Regions from separate parts of the Homo sapiens genome. Here regions 1 and 2 are each linked to region 3. The links are contacts of gene promoters, found by promoter capture Hi-C in blood cells and fetal thymus (Javierre and others, 2016). All regions are on one chromosome and are shown on one strand. The core of a region is centred on a gene start or on the middle of the fragment in contact, and the rest is flanking DNA. Distances in the headings are between cores, read along the strand shown. Region 1 overlaps LINC00970 (long intergenic non-protein coding RNA 970). Region 2 overlaps NME7 (NME/NM23 family member 7). Region 3 holds the start of DPT (dermatopontin).

Region 1 (4,580 bases), core at 943-3,442, 310 kb after region 3:
AAACATTGGGATAGGTTCTTTATTTACATTGTGTTATTTAATCCTTAAAACGACTTGATGAGGAGGTATTCTTAATCCCATTTTTCAAATAAGGAAACTGAGACTCAGATAGATGACTCTTGTTCAATGTCACCCCACCTAGAAAGTCCTTTCTCTAGAGAAAAAAGGAAAGGGTGCTGTCTTAGTCAGTTTGGGCTGCCGTAATAGAATACCATAGACTGGGTGGCTTCTAAACGACATCAATTTATTTCTCACAGTTCTGGAGCCTGGGAAGTTCAAGATCAAGACTCCAGCAGTTTCTGTGTCTGGTGAGGGCTTGCTTCTTCATTCATAGATGGCACCTTCTCATTGTGTCCTCACATGGGAGAAGGGGAAAGGGATCTAGCTGGGGTCTCTTTTATAAGAGCACTAATCCCATGAGGGTGAGGGCTCTACCCTCATCATCTAATCACCTCTCAAAGGCCCTGCCTCTGAATACCATCACATTGGGGATTAAATTTTAGCATATGAATTTTAGAGGGGACACAAGCATTCAGTCTATAGCAGGCACACATACATTTATTAAGTGTCTCACTAACTATATACTTAACCTAACACATGTAAACCAAATAAATTCTACATAAATATTTATGATACCCAATGTTGGTGAGGGTGTGCAGAAAGTCACACTCACATAATTAGTAATAGCTATCAAAAACATGTAATGTGTATGCCTTTTAACCAAGCAGCTTTAGTAGTAGGAATTAACCCATCTATTGAGACAAATGTGCCAAGAGAAAAGTATCATGATATTCACTACCACATTGTTTTCAACATCAAAATATAATACAAACATAAAAATCTAGCATGTAACCAGAAAAATTATGCTGAGATACAGTATAGCCCATAAGGAATGAGGTAGATAAATAGGAAAAGGTATTCAAGTGTCAGTTCTAACATCAAAGAACAAAAAAATCATAGGCAAAGAGGCAACCAAGGGTGGCTTCTGAGAGAAATGAAACTAGATTTGAGTCTGAAATGAAAAATCAAACTATTTTGGCCAGGCTGAGGAGAAGAGGAAGGCCCTCTATGATGGAGCAGCCATCAACCATTGACCAAGAAATGATGTTGCGCAGTGGAAAGACCACTGGTTGTGGATTCTGAACATGAACCCCTGGCTCTAGAGTGACCTAAGGCAGAGCCTCCCAGCCCTTTTATGCGGAAGTACCCAGATTGGCAGTGAAGAGAGCTGCATTCCCCATGAAAACAAAAAGTGGCCTAATGGGAGTGAGGTTTATTTTAAAGTCTCAAATTTCCCTACCTCTGACTTTGGCTAATGGACACTATGTTGTTTCATTGAGACTGACAAATTAGGAATGTTGAAATGAATTAAAGAGATGCGGTACAGCATATCAGGTTCAATTTCTTTTTTTGTTTCTCAGAGACCTGGTTTTTCAAGGACCTGGGCTCACATAATTATGTGGGCATAAATAGTGGAAAGTAGAAACTAAGAATCCAGAGCTATTTTAGCAGATAGTTTAACCTGTTTGTCAAAGTCAATGATTTTTCTTTATTTTTACTTCTTTACATATTTTTTTGTGAGGTAACTAATTTTTCAAAAAGTAAACTGTGGCCATAGGCCTGTGGGTACTCCTCAGGAAGGACCACCGCTTCTCTGATTTATCTGATCTATGTTGGGATTCTGTGTATAATATTATTTGAAAAAAAATCCATGGCTTAATAGAAAAAGATTTAAAATCACAGCTTGAGAAGCTAGCTAGTAAACTACAGGCAAGCTTCTATACCTTAAATAGTAGTATCCACATTCATTTGAACATCTAAGTTTCCGAAGGAGCTTTTCCTCCCAAAATTAACTGCTACTGACAAAAACACAAAATACACATTTGCCACTAATGAATAAATTATGTCACATTTATTAGTAAATAATTTTCTAAGTGAATATTGGCACTGAACTCTGGTTCCAAAAATGGCAGCAAAGAAGCAAGCTGGCTTTACTCATCCCCACAGAAAACCAAAAACAAATATACAGCACTAAGAGTATCACTAGAAATATCCCCGAACTCAAATATGAAGAAGAGACAGTTCCCAGGGCCACAGAGAAGTGGAAAAAACTCTGAGCAGACAGTAAGAGAATCAGACTTCCACATTCATGATGCCATTCCTCCCATTCTATTCCCAATTCTACCATCAAGCACACAGAAAATTCTCTACCAACTCACTGTTTCTACACTGTAAAAAAGTGAGATCAAGGTGAATAACCAGCCTCCTCACCGTCTTGGGTTCCCTGGCAGGAGACCCGTACCTGCTTTAACCCACGGGAAGCATTGCTAGTGCCTGAAGGAATAAATATCCCTGAGGACAATCAGAGGCAGAGACAATGGGGGAAGGTGGAACTATCATCCCCAGCCCCGGAAACTCTACTGTGTAACTCAGCCAAAGGAAAAGCCAAATCAGAGTGACTGTTCAGCAGCACAGTGCTGTAGAAGATTCATCTTATAGGTCTCCTGGGCACTAACCCCTAGCCAGTCTTGCCACAATGCTGGGATATCCCCATTTGGATTGTCCCAATTCGGGAAGAATAGTGCTCTAATCATTTACTTGAGCCAAGATAAGCTTGGAGTTAAGACATCAACTAGAGCTGAAATCTGACCTAATGGTAAAGATTTGCTAAGCAAAATATGCAATAAAAACCAATACAGCCCAGACAGAGAAAACTGGAATAAGTAACTAAACCTTTCAATGCAAACACAAAGATGTATACCCATAAGGAACAACAACAAACAGGGCACCATGACATCCTCTAAAGGAAAAAACAAAAATTCAATGGCTAACCCTAATGAGATGGCAATTTGTGAGCTCTCTGAACAAGAATTCAAAGTAGCAGGTCTAAGGAAACTCAATGATCTCCAAGAAAATGCAGAAAAGCAATTCAGAAATTTATCAGAGAAATTTAACTAAGAGATTGAAATAATAAAAAGTCAAACAGATATCTTGGAACTGAGAAATACATTTATAGAAATAAAGAACTCATTAGAGGCTCTCAACAGAAAAGCAGACCAAGCAGAGGAAAAAATCAGTAAACTTAAAGACCACCTATTTGAAAATACACAATCAGAGGAGAAAAAAGAAAAAAGAATGAAGACTACCTATAAGATATAGAAAATCTCCTCAAAAAATCAAATCTAAGAATTATTGGTGTTCAAGAAGGAACTAAGCAAGAGCAAGGACTAGAACATTTATTTAAAAAAAGAATAACAAAAAACTTCCCCCAAACTTTAGAAAGATACAAATATCCAGGCACAAGAAGGTCTGAGAATACAGATTCAAACCAAATAAGACTACCCCAAGGCATATAATAATTAAACTCTCAAAGGTCAAAGACAAAGAGGATTCTAAAAGCAGCAAGAAAAAAGAAGCAAGTTACATACAAGGAGCTCCAGTTTTTCCAGCAACAGACTTCTCACCAGAAACCATACAGGCTAGTAGGGAGTGAAACAACATTTTCAAAATGCTGAAATAAAAGAACTGCTTTACGATAATACTGTACTCAGCAAAGTTATCCTTCAAATATGAAAGGAGAGAAAGTCTTTCCCAGACAAATAAAAGCTAAGAAAATTCACTACCACCAGACTCATAGTAAAAGAAATGCTAAAAGGAGTTCTTCACTTTTCAAGCTATAAAACCCACAGGTAAAATTAAGTACATGGACAAACTCATAATACTCTGTTACTGTAATTATGGTGTACAATCCACTCATAACTCTAGTGTTAAGCCCAAAAGACAAATCTACCAGAACAATAATTGCTACAACTCATTAACAAATAAGTAATATAAAAATATGTAAATTGAGACAACCAAAAGTCAAAATATGGGAGGATGGAGTTAAAGTGTAGAATTTTTGTGTGCTTGTCTTGCCTTTGTTTGTTTCTATTCTTGTATTTGTGATCTAATAAGTTGATACGTCTTTAAAATAACTTGTTATATCTATAACATGTTTATGTAAACCTCATGGTAATCACAACGCAAAAACCTATAATAGATTCACTAAAAATAAAAAGCAATGAATTAAAACATGCTACCAGAGAAAATCATTTAACCACAAAGGAAGACAGTAAGAAAGGAAGAGAGGACTTACAAGACAATCAGAAAACAAGAAACAAAATGGCAGTAGTAAGTCCTTACTTATCAATAATGACACTGAATGTAAATGGACTCAATTCTCCAATTAAAAGGCACAGAATGGCTGAATGGATGAAGAAACAAGACCTAACTATATGCTGCCCTACAAGAGATCCATTTCACTCATAAAGGCACACATAGACTAAAAGTGAAAGGGTGGAAAATATTATATGCAATTGGAAACCAAAAAAATAAAGCAGGAGTAGGAATACTTACATCAGATAAAATATACTACAAATCAAAAACTGTAAAAAGAGTCAAAGAAGGTCATTGTATAATGATAAAGGGATCAATTCAGCAAGTGGATAAAACAATTAAAATATCTGTGCACCTAGCACCAGAACTCCCAAGTATATAAAGCAAGCATTGATAAATTTAAAGGGAGAAATAGATTGCAAGAC
Region 2 (4,527 bases), core at 585-3,084, 480 kb after region 3:
ATTATACTATATCCAATGCTTCAAACTAAATTACTCAGCCTTGCAATCTCAATGCCTATGTGACATAATCTCTCATTTTAAAAGTACAGATTCCCATTTCAGATTATAGAAATTCTAAGTATTCCACAGGGTTCACCTTCTTTCAGATGTCGCACTCTCTCGGAAACCTTACGCACTTACTCCAGAGATGTAAGCACTTTCCTTGAAAATCTTATTCACAACCTGTATCTCTCTTAAAGCATTTATCTTACTGTCAGATTTATTTTGCCATTGTCTGTAAACTTATCTTTTCTTACAACAGTTTGCAAGCAAAATCTAGTAATGCCTTGACTACCACTACATTTCAATAAATAATTATTGACTCAATTTTATTCAATTTTGAACTCTTATCAAAGCTCTCAAATTTGCTATCTGTGTTCTTTGGGCAAGCTTAGTATCTTTACAGATGGTGTAATTCCATTGGAAGTTTCTTTTCTTTCTTGAAGGTCATAAAACAAGGATGGCCCAACATCTCATACTGAAAACAGTTTTCCATCTAATTTTTTGATCAACTATAAGATTATTCTATAAGACCAAAGCAGGAAGCCTATAAATATATATTTACTATTGTCACACTAATAATTAGTCTAGCAAAATAGTATGCTTATGTTATTGTTCTTTAGGATAAACTGACAATGTAATGTTGCAGTTTACTTAAAAAACAATACTTACTATTATAACCACACTTTTAGTTTTTTCATTTACTAATTCACTACTTTCTATAATCAGAGTCAGTGTCAATTGTTTTCCCATGATCTTATGTAATTTGAGCTTTAGCACCATCATCACATATATGTATGAAAAGAATAAGGTTCCAGATCTAAAGGCAACATCTGGTGCTTCCTTTCCTCAATTACTCTCCTAAAATCAAGACATAGGAACAAGGTTGCCCAAAACTCATTCAAGTCTTCCCATCTTGCCCATTATGTGTCAAATAGTTGTGTGGTACCCTCACAGCATGTATCCTAGGCTCTGAGAAAAGTAAGAAAAATCCATATTTATGGAATATTCTAAGAAGTTTGCCCATATTAGCTGATATAATCCTCACAACCGGCTTATTCTTTTTCCGTTTTATTGGTGAAGAAACAGATTATATTTTACAGATGAAGAATCTCAGGCGGCCTGGCTCTAGAGCCCACTGCAAAGCACCACATGTCAAGTACTGGCATTCATTATTCATTCTTCCTGCTTCTGCTCCGGCCCCACTTTGTCTATTCACCACATGGAAGCCAGCATTATTGTGTTAAAACATGTTAGGTTATGTTGGTCCTCTGCTCAAACTCTGCAATGGTCCCCTTCTTACTCAGAGTAAAAGCTAAAGTATTTTCAGCAGCTTTCCACGCTCTATGTGATCTTCTTTCCCATCCTGTATCTCTTTGACCTCACCTCACACATTCACTCCACTCTGGCCACACTGTCCTCCTGACTTCTTCCAATATACTAAGCATACTCCAGCTTTGGCACTTGCTGTTCCTCCAGCCTGGATTGCTAGGTGACTGTCACCCTCATCTCCTTCAAGTCTGTATCCAATGTTAACTTTTAAATGCAGCCTTCTCTGTCCATTCTACTTAAAAACTATAAATCCCTCCCTTTTCTGGAAAACCCTATTTCCCTCCCCTGCTTTATTTTCCCCTACACACTTACCATCATATTATATATTTTACTTATTTATTCCGCTCCTGATCTGTTTCCCCCCAACTAGAACGTCCTCTGTGAAGATAGATTTTATTGTTTGTTCTTTTGCCACTGTATTTCTACTGTATCTAGAATAGTACTTAGTATGTAGTAAGTCCCCAGAAAATATTTGATGAATTAACTAATTAATTAATTCAAATATCTATATGGAAGTTGGAGCTGATGTTGAGAGACTGAAAAAGAATGGATGGCTACAAGTCTTACAAGGAGGAATACCTCAGAGGCCTGGAACACGGAGGGTAGGGAGGATTAATACTAGGACAAGGAATAAAAAGGAAGAAGCTGTCTTGGGTTAATGCTTGGTCTTCAACTCCAGGGATTCTTATTTGACCTTTGTGTATCTTCCTTTAGGACTAGGGTTCATAATTTTGTCTTATGCAAAGACAAAGTTAAGAACCTCTTTTGGCAGCCTGATGGAGCCTATGAACCCTTCTCAAAGCAATGTTTTTAAATGCATAAAATACATAGAATTGCAGGAAATTAATTACTCTAAAATAAAATTATCAGAATATTTTATATTTTGTGATATAATGTACATATTTATTAAAATGTAGCAGCTGATTTAATAACTCTTATAATTTTAAAATAGCAATGACTGTAAATGATGTTTTAAGATATGTACAATTGTAATGCAATGTGAAAATGTTTGCAATTTCTGGTGGTTGCTAAGTTAACTACTATATTAACACATAGCTATAACAGTGATTAGTTGTTTATATTTATGGAATTCTAATATTCAGTCAGATATTAGTGAAAATAAACACGATTCTTTTTTTCTCATCCAAGTTCACAGACCCCTTGTCTTAGTCCGTTTGCATTGCTATAAAGAAACATCTGAGGATAGGTAATTTATAAGGAAAAGAGGTTTATTTGGCTCATGGTTCTGCAGGCTATACCAGAAGCATGGTACCAGCATCTGCTTCTGATGAGGGCCTCAGGCTGTTTCTACTCATGGTGGAAGGTGAAGGGGAAGTGGCATGCAGAGATCACAGGGTAAGGGTGGAAGCAAGAGGAAGAAGGGAACGATGCCAGGCTCTTTTTAACAAACAGTTCTCAAGGAAACTAACACAGTGAGAACTCAGTCATTACCCTGAGGATGCCACCAAGCCATTCATGAGGGATCTGCCCCCAGGACCCAAATGCCTCCCACTAGGCCCTACCTCCAATGCTGAGAATCACATTTCAATATGAGATTTGGGGGAGTCAAGCAAACCAAACTAGAGCACCCCTGAATTCTATTCCCAAAAGCCATAGGGGTCTGTAGACATCAGGATAAGAACCTTGCTCTAGGATTAGTCTCAGGGTACACCCAAGGGGGAAGAGGATCAAAATTAACTACACCTTCACTATCACAGAAGCAGAAGGAAAAAAAGAGACAACAAAGAAAAACAAAACAAAATGATTTTTTTCCAAATTCCTTTAACTAAAGGCAATCTTTTTCACCTTATAACTAGAAAATAGTCTGAAAAATGCAAGTATTTATGAGTTTTGGTGTATCAGTATGAATAAGCTTTAATAACAGGACAATGTTACTTTCTAACATTGATGAGAAATTCAAAAGCAGGAAAGCATAGAAGCCTCCAAATCAGTGCAAAGATCTGATGCGGTGGGGAAGGGAGGGTGCTGGAGTGAGTAGTCTGGAAATAAAGAAAACAAAATAATGAAGGCTAGATTTATGGAGTCCTGTTTATCTTTTTTCTCTTCCCTAAAAAGTAAAAGCTATGTTTCAAAGTTCTTTATGTTCTCTTCAAGGTCCCTGAAAGCAGCTTAGCAAGAATTATGGTCAGGAATTTCTCCTTATCCTGGTTGTCATCTGTAACTTTTGGCAACAAAATTGGAAAATACTTCATACCAGATGCCCTCTTTTGGAGATTCACAATGCATGTCAGCATTTGACATGTTCTAGAGTCCTTTAGTACACAAATCTGCTTAACTTCATTTAAACCAGTATTTCTCAATCTTATTTGATCGTAAATTTTTTTCCATTTAATATATGTCTATTATTGCAATTATAAGACTTTATTGCAATTATTGACAATACAATTCTTTTCTTCAACTAGGACATAAATTCCTCTGGCTCAGCAAAGGTGTCTTGTTCATGTTTTCATTGCTAGTACTAAGAACTATTAATACTTCATATGCACTTTGAAAGTCTGTAAATGTTTGGTTGGTTAGTGGTTGGTGGGTTGGCTGACTGAATAAATGAATAAATCAGAGACAAAAATACTTCAGGCCAACTTTACTGTGTATATTATCTCTGTAACATGTCAGGAACCTTTAGAAGCCTTTTGAAGTAAGTTTAACAGTGAAAAGGATAACAAAGAAAAAATGGCTGTTAACAGCTAACTCCCCAGTGGAAATCTACATACATACTTATGTTTAAACCAAAATAATAGTAAAACTTTCCAGAAGAAAGGTATATTTCTATTCTAATCATTTCTGTAGCTCTGAAAGTAGAGATTATAGTGTTAATAATTCAAAGAGCCATTTCATTTGCATTCTGTGTAGTAATAAGTGTAACATCTCAGCAAGTGTCACAATTCCTAGAAGTAAATTATGTTAATTAATTAGTAGGAAGGCTTAAAGGCCAAAACTGGAAATAATCCCAAAAAGTCTCTAAATGTTGCCTTTAATTACTTAGATCAAGTTTATGGGTGATAATAAAGTAATACAAAGATCCATAGATTTACAGGTTTGGAAAAATACATATATATTGGTTGGATTTCGATCCTGTAAGGTTATAAAGAATGTGTTTCCATAGTCCATCTGTTTTTAGATTTTAGTCAATTAATT
Region 3 (4,563 bases), core at 1,811-4,310:
AGGCAACAGAGGGTGGAAGGAGGAAAGGAAACCAAAATTACTAGACACTGCACACCCAAAAATGCCGAGTAAGAGGAGGTGGAAGAGGTATCTCGCCTATCAGCTTTTCCCTTGACTCCCATGGGCCAAATAAAATCATGTTATTTCACCTTCTTCCTCTTTTGCTTTTCTTCAAATAGTTTGGGAGTTCATGACAAACCAGTCACAGTTGGCAAGTTTAAAACTAAACATCATTTGGCTTCTCTCTCTAGCAGGGATGAACACAAAGATCAACAGAATGCAAGAAAAAGCCAAGAGTGTTTTCAGGGGTGAGCCACAGCTCTGTGGAGCCTTCAGAGATCATGCAGCCTGACTGCTCACTTTCCAAATGAGGCGGGAGACTGGAGGGCTGAGCGTCTGGGCCAAGGTCACACCACAAGTCATTAGAACCAGGATCCAGACCCAGGCCTCCTGATTCAGAGCCTAGGGCTCTTCCTCTATGGCTTGGGGAACCATGGCTGAGTGCTGCTTGACTGTGGCACAAAAAACGGCTGTTAGAAAGGAGTCGCACCCATGCGATAGTGCTCCTGAGAGGTGAGGACTGGAGGGACAGTTGTAATTAGGTCATTGCCATGCTCCACATTAGGCAGTGGGCCTGGCTGTGAGGAGTCATGGAGACAACAATCAAGGTGAGCCTGGTCTCTGAATCAGCATCTGTCAGAAGGGGTTTTGAATAACTAAATCTGCTCACCAGAGGCCATGGGGGTGGATGAGAATGGCCCACAAAGGCTGTCCAAGCAGCCTCCACAGCCCCGGCACCCTCACCTGCTGCTGCCTGTGTGAGTCCTCTCCCCACCCCTTCTACAGTCCGGCTGAGCCCCTCCACAGTCCTGGTAACCAAGTAGGGATCATCCCTCTGGGGCTGGGCTTCTGCTGTGGTCTTGCAGGTCCCCACCCTCTCCAGGAGGAAGAACTGCCCTGAATCTGGTCCTGTGGCACTGGCTCTGCTGACAGAGTCAGCTGTCGGGTGGGAGCCCACTCTGGGTGGAGGCAGCAGCCTCTCAGGAGCCCGTCACTGTGGCAAAGTACAAACTCTTTGAAGCAAAGACTCTGTGGATCCAAACCCCAGCTTTCTAGCCGAGGAAATACTGGATCTCTAGACTGCAGTTTGTCTACCTATAAATGGGATATACCCTTGTTTTGAGCATTACACGAGATGATCCACATAAAGCACTTAGCATGGAGCCTGCTCAGGGTAAGCACTCAATAAATGGTAGCTGTTGTCATTACTTAAAGGCCCGCTCTCTTTCCTGGCTCCCCCACCCATCGGTGTTTCTTCCTCTTGGATTTCCCATCATCACCTCTCTACTGGTTGTGTCCCCCAGGGTTCTATGCTTTTTCTTTTTTCTATTTTCTTTTTTTTTTTTTTTTGAGGCAGAGTCTTGCTCTGCCACCCAGGAGGGAATACAGTGGTGCGAGCATGGCTCACTGCAGCCTCGACTCCCTGGGCTCAAGTGATCCTCCTACCTTAGCCTCCTGAGTAGCTGGGACCACAGGCTGCATGCAACTACACCGGGCTAATTTTTTTTTTTCTGTAGAGATAGGGTCTGGCTGTGTTCCCTAGGCTGGTCTCGAACTCTTGATCTCAAGTGATCCTCCCTCCCCAGCCTCCCAAAGTGTTTGGGATTACAGGCGTGAGCCACCACACCTGGCCAGATTTTGTGCTTGACCCCTCCAATCCCCACTACACTAAGTACTTGTTGCCACACATCTGGGTTGCTCTACAGATAGCACATGCAGCAGCCCTCCAGGTGGGCTTCCTCCTCCCTGGACTGCCTCCTCCGTTCTCTCCTCCAAGCCTCCTAGAGTGCTGGCTCCATCTAGGCTGTTGTAAATAATCAGCCTAGCAGTCAGTGCCTACTAGGATGAGCTCCTGACCAAGCACCTGGGCTGAGACCCAGCTGAGACAATCACACCCCACAAAAAAGTACAAGCTCGAAAAAATTCCATGCCACTGCTTAAGGCAGAATGCAGTCAGGGGAAGACAGCACCTCTCTCCAAAACCCTTTAGTAAACTATTTTCCAGCAATAAAACCCACTTTAAATTCAGGCAGAGAGAAGGACCTCAGTACTCATAATTGAGAGAGCACATTTAATCAAGGCAGTAGACAGCTATTTAATTCCACTTTCTTTTGCCTAAATGTCCTTGTCCCCTCTTTTCCATTCACTTGCTCTAAATCAATAGTTCTCAAACCCTCCGTGCTGAGAGATCAATTGTTTATTTTTCTTGTTCCCAAACTACTGTGGGCCAGTACTTTTGTAAAATGGTAAAAATAAATTTCTAAAAAAGAAAAATGCCATTCCGATGGCACAGAAAGTTTTAATTTCTATAAAGTTTATTACTTTCAGTTTCTGTACATATCTTTTGGTAGTCTGGTAAGCAAGCTTCTCGCCGACCTACACCAGCCCCTGGCCCAAACTGAGAGTAGGTAGAACAGCTTCTGGAAGGAACAGAGCCACAGAGGAGTCTGTCTCCCACAGACACTCCCCATCCCAGGTTTTTGTCCTGTCATGTAGTCCGCTCAGCAGCAGCCCTGCTCCACCCAGAGCATGCAGTGGTGAGGTTTGGGGTGGGATTTGCCCAGGCTTTGGTTACTGATATTCCTTGAGAGTCTAGCAGCCCCCAGGAGGAGGGATATGCAGAGATGTTCCCAGCCCCAGTGCAGTGCAGGGACTGGCCCTTACCATTCCATGCCAGCCCTGTTGATCTCCTCCCACCAGCACTCCGTGGGTTCCCCGAGGCTCTGTGGCGTGGGCATGCAGGCGTAGTTCCATTGTCTGTCAGAACCTTCCTTCTTGCTGAAGATGCTCCTCACGGCCACTATCACCTGCCCCTGGGGACACTGGTAGCTGAAGCCTTGCCGGTTCAAATTCACCCACCCATCATCGCTGTAGTCATGATACTGCTGGTATGGGTATCCATAATCGCCATACTGGCCCCAGGCCATGGTGACTAGGGGCAGAAGTACCCAGAGAAGACTGAGGTCCATGCTGCCTGGGATTTTGGCAAACAATGTCACTCTAAGATTGCTGGTCTGACCGTTTTATATAGCTGCCGCTGACATGTGGCTTCCAGATGTGGGTGAGAAGGATCCAACTGCAGTGTGTCATTGCTTAAGCAAAACTTTTCCATGCTGAGATGTCAGCCATAAGGACATTCAGCTTGTTTTAAGGTGGAATTCTAGGAATATACCAGCAGCATGTAAGTCTAAGAAGCTCCCTGGAGAAAGAACAACTTTGTATCTAGATTATAAAAGCCAACTGCTGCTCTACCCTGTAGAAATATTCACTTGAAAAACACTGATTAGTAGCATATTTGTCCCTCACCTTTCAGCACCTCACCCCTTTCTGTCCTACCCTACCCGCTACTAGCAAACCCCTGTATTTGTTCTCCAAACTAGCCTTCCGGGCCACACAAATACCCAGACAGTGATTTCAAAATACCGAAATCATAGACTGAAGTAACAGAGCCATCTAGGATTTCTGTAAGGCTGAATGCCTGTTTTTTTTTTTAAGTTGTCAATCCAACACTTTTTAACCCTTGAGTATAAGCGCGGGTATACCAGTTTGCAGGGCTACTCTGAGAACTCATAAGTTGCATAAGGAAGTACTATGGGCCCATGGGGAGATAAGTTGGATATGATTTCTACACTTAAGCATTCTACCATGCTGCTGAAATTGGACCCAGTCAAGTCTAGAAAGTGTGCTCTGCTCTCAAAATGTAATGGGTTTAATCTAAATAAACCCCCTATTTATCCTTCAGTATTTTTGCCCTCACATTGAATTTTCTTTTCATTGAGTTATAATTTACATATAATTAATTCACCTTTTAAAATACATAATGTACAGTAACATAGCCAGCACCCTAATCAAGACTTAGAACAGTTCCATCAATCCAAAACATCCCCTTATATCCCTTTGCAGTCAAATCTTCCCAAACACCCAGCCATTGGTAACCACTGATTTACTTTCTGTCTCTATGGTTTTGCCTTTTCCAGAATGTCAAGTAAATGGAATCATACCACACGTAGCCTTTCATGTCCATCTTTCACTTAGCATAATGCTTTTAAGGTTCATCCATTTTAAAATTCAACATCTCATTGTATGTGTTAGTATTTTGTTTCTTGTTATTGTTGAGTAATATTCCATAGCATGGATGTACCACAGATTGTTTATACATTTACTAGTTGAAAGACATTTGGGTTGTTTCCAGTTTTTGAAAATTCATTACTTTTTATGTAATGAATTTTATATTCATTATATTTTATATAATGAATTACATAAATGTAATTATAAAGTTGATATAAACATCTATGTATAGGTTTTTGTGTGAACAAATTTTTATTTCATTTGGGTCAATACCTAGGAGTGAGATTGCTGGTTCACAAGGTAATGTATGTTTAACTTTAAAAGAAACTACTGAGGCCGGGTGTGGTGGCTCATGCTTGTAATCCCAGCACTTTAGGAGGCCGAGGCGGGCGGATCACGAGGTCAGGAGATCGAGACCATCCTGGCTAACATGGT

Evidence for each region. The method cuts DNA at HindIII sites, captures the fragments that hold promoters and counts their contacts. A CHiCAGO score of 5 or more calls a contact.
Region 1: a fragment that was not itself captured here is called in contact with the fragment with the promoter of DPT in region 3 in 1 of 17 cell types (M2 macrophages); the score reaches 5.4 in M2 macrophages.
Region 2: a contact is called between a fragment that was not itself captured here and the fragment with the promoter of DPT in region 3, in 1 of 17 cell types (M1 macrophages). The highest score is 5.0, in M1 macrophages.

What each region holds. Positions count from the first base shown.
Region 1 is chr1:169,034,006-169,038,585 of GRCh38, forward strand. The region is part of intron 3 of LINC00970 (long intergenic non-protein coding RNA 970); the gene reads right to left. Among named protein-coding and RNA genes, the nearest start is that of LINC00970, 51 kb to the right of the region's middle. The HindIII fragment of the contact is 838 bases long and covers 1,774-2,611 here.
Region 2 is chr1:169,204,452-169,208,978 of GRCh38, forward strand. All of the region lies in intron 10 of NME7 (NME/NM23 family member 7), which reads right to left. Among named protein-coding and RNA genes, the nearest start is that of ATP1B1, 100 kb to the left of the region's middle. The HindIII fragment of the contact is 2,815 bases long and covers 428-3,242 here.
Region 3 is chr1:168,726,146-168,730,708 of GRCh38, forward strand. It overlaps DPT (dermatopontin), which reads right to left and starts at 3,061. Exons shown (of 4, transcript NM_001937.5): 1 at 2,725-3,061. The coding sequence starts at 3,029. The HindIII fragment of the contact is 3,243 bases long and covers 2,423-4,563 here.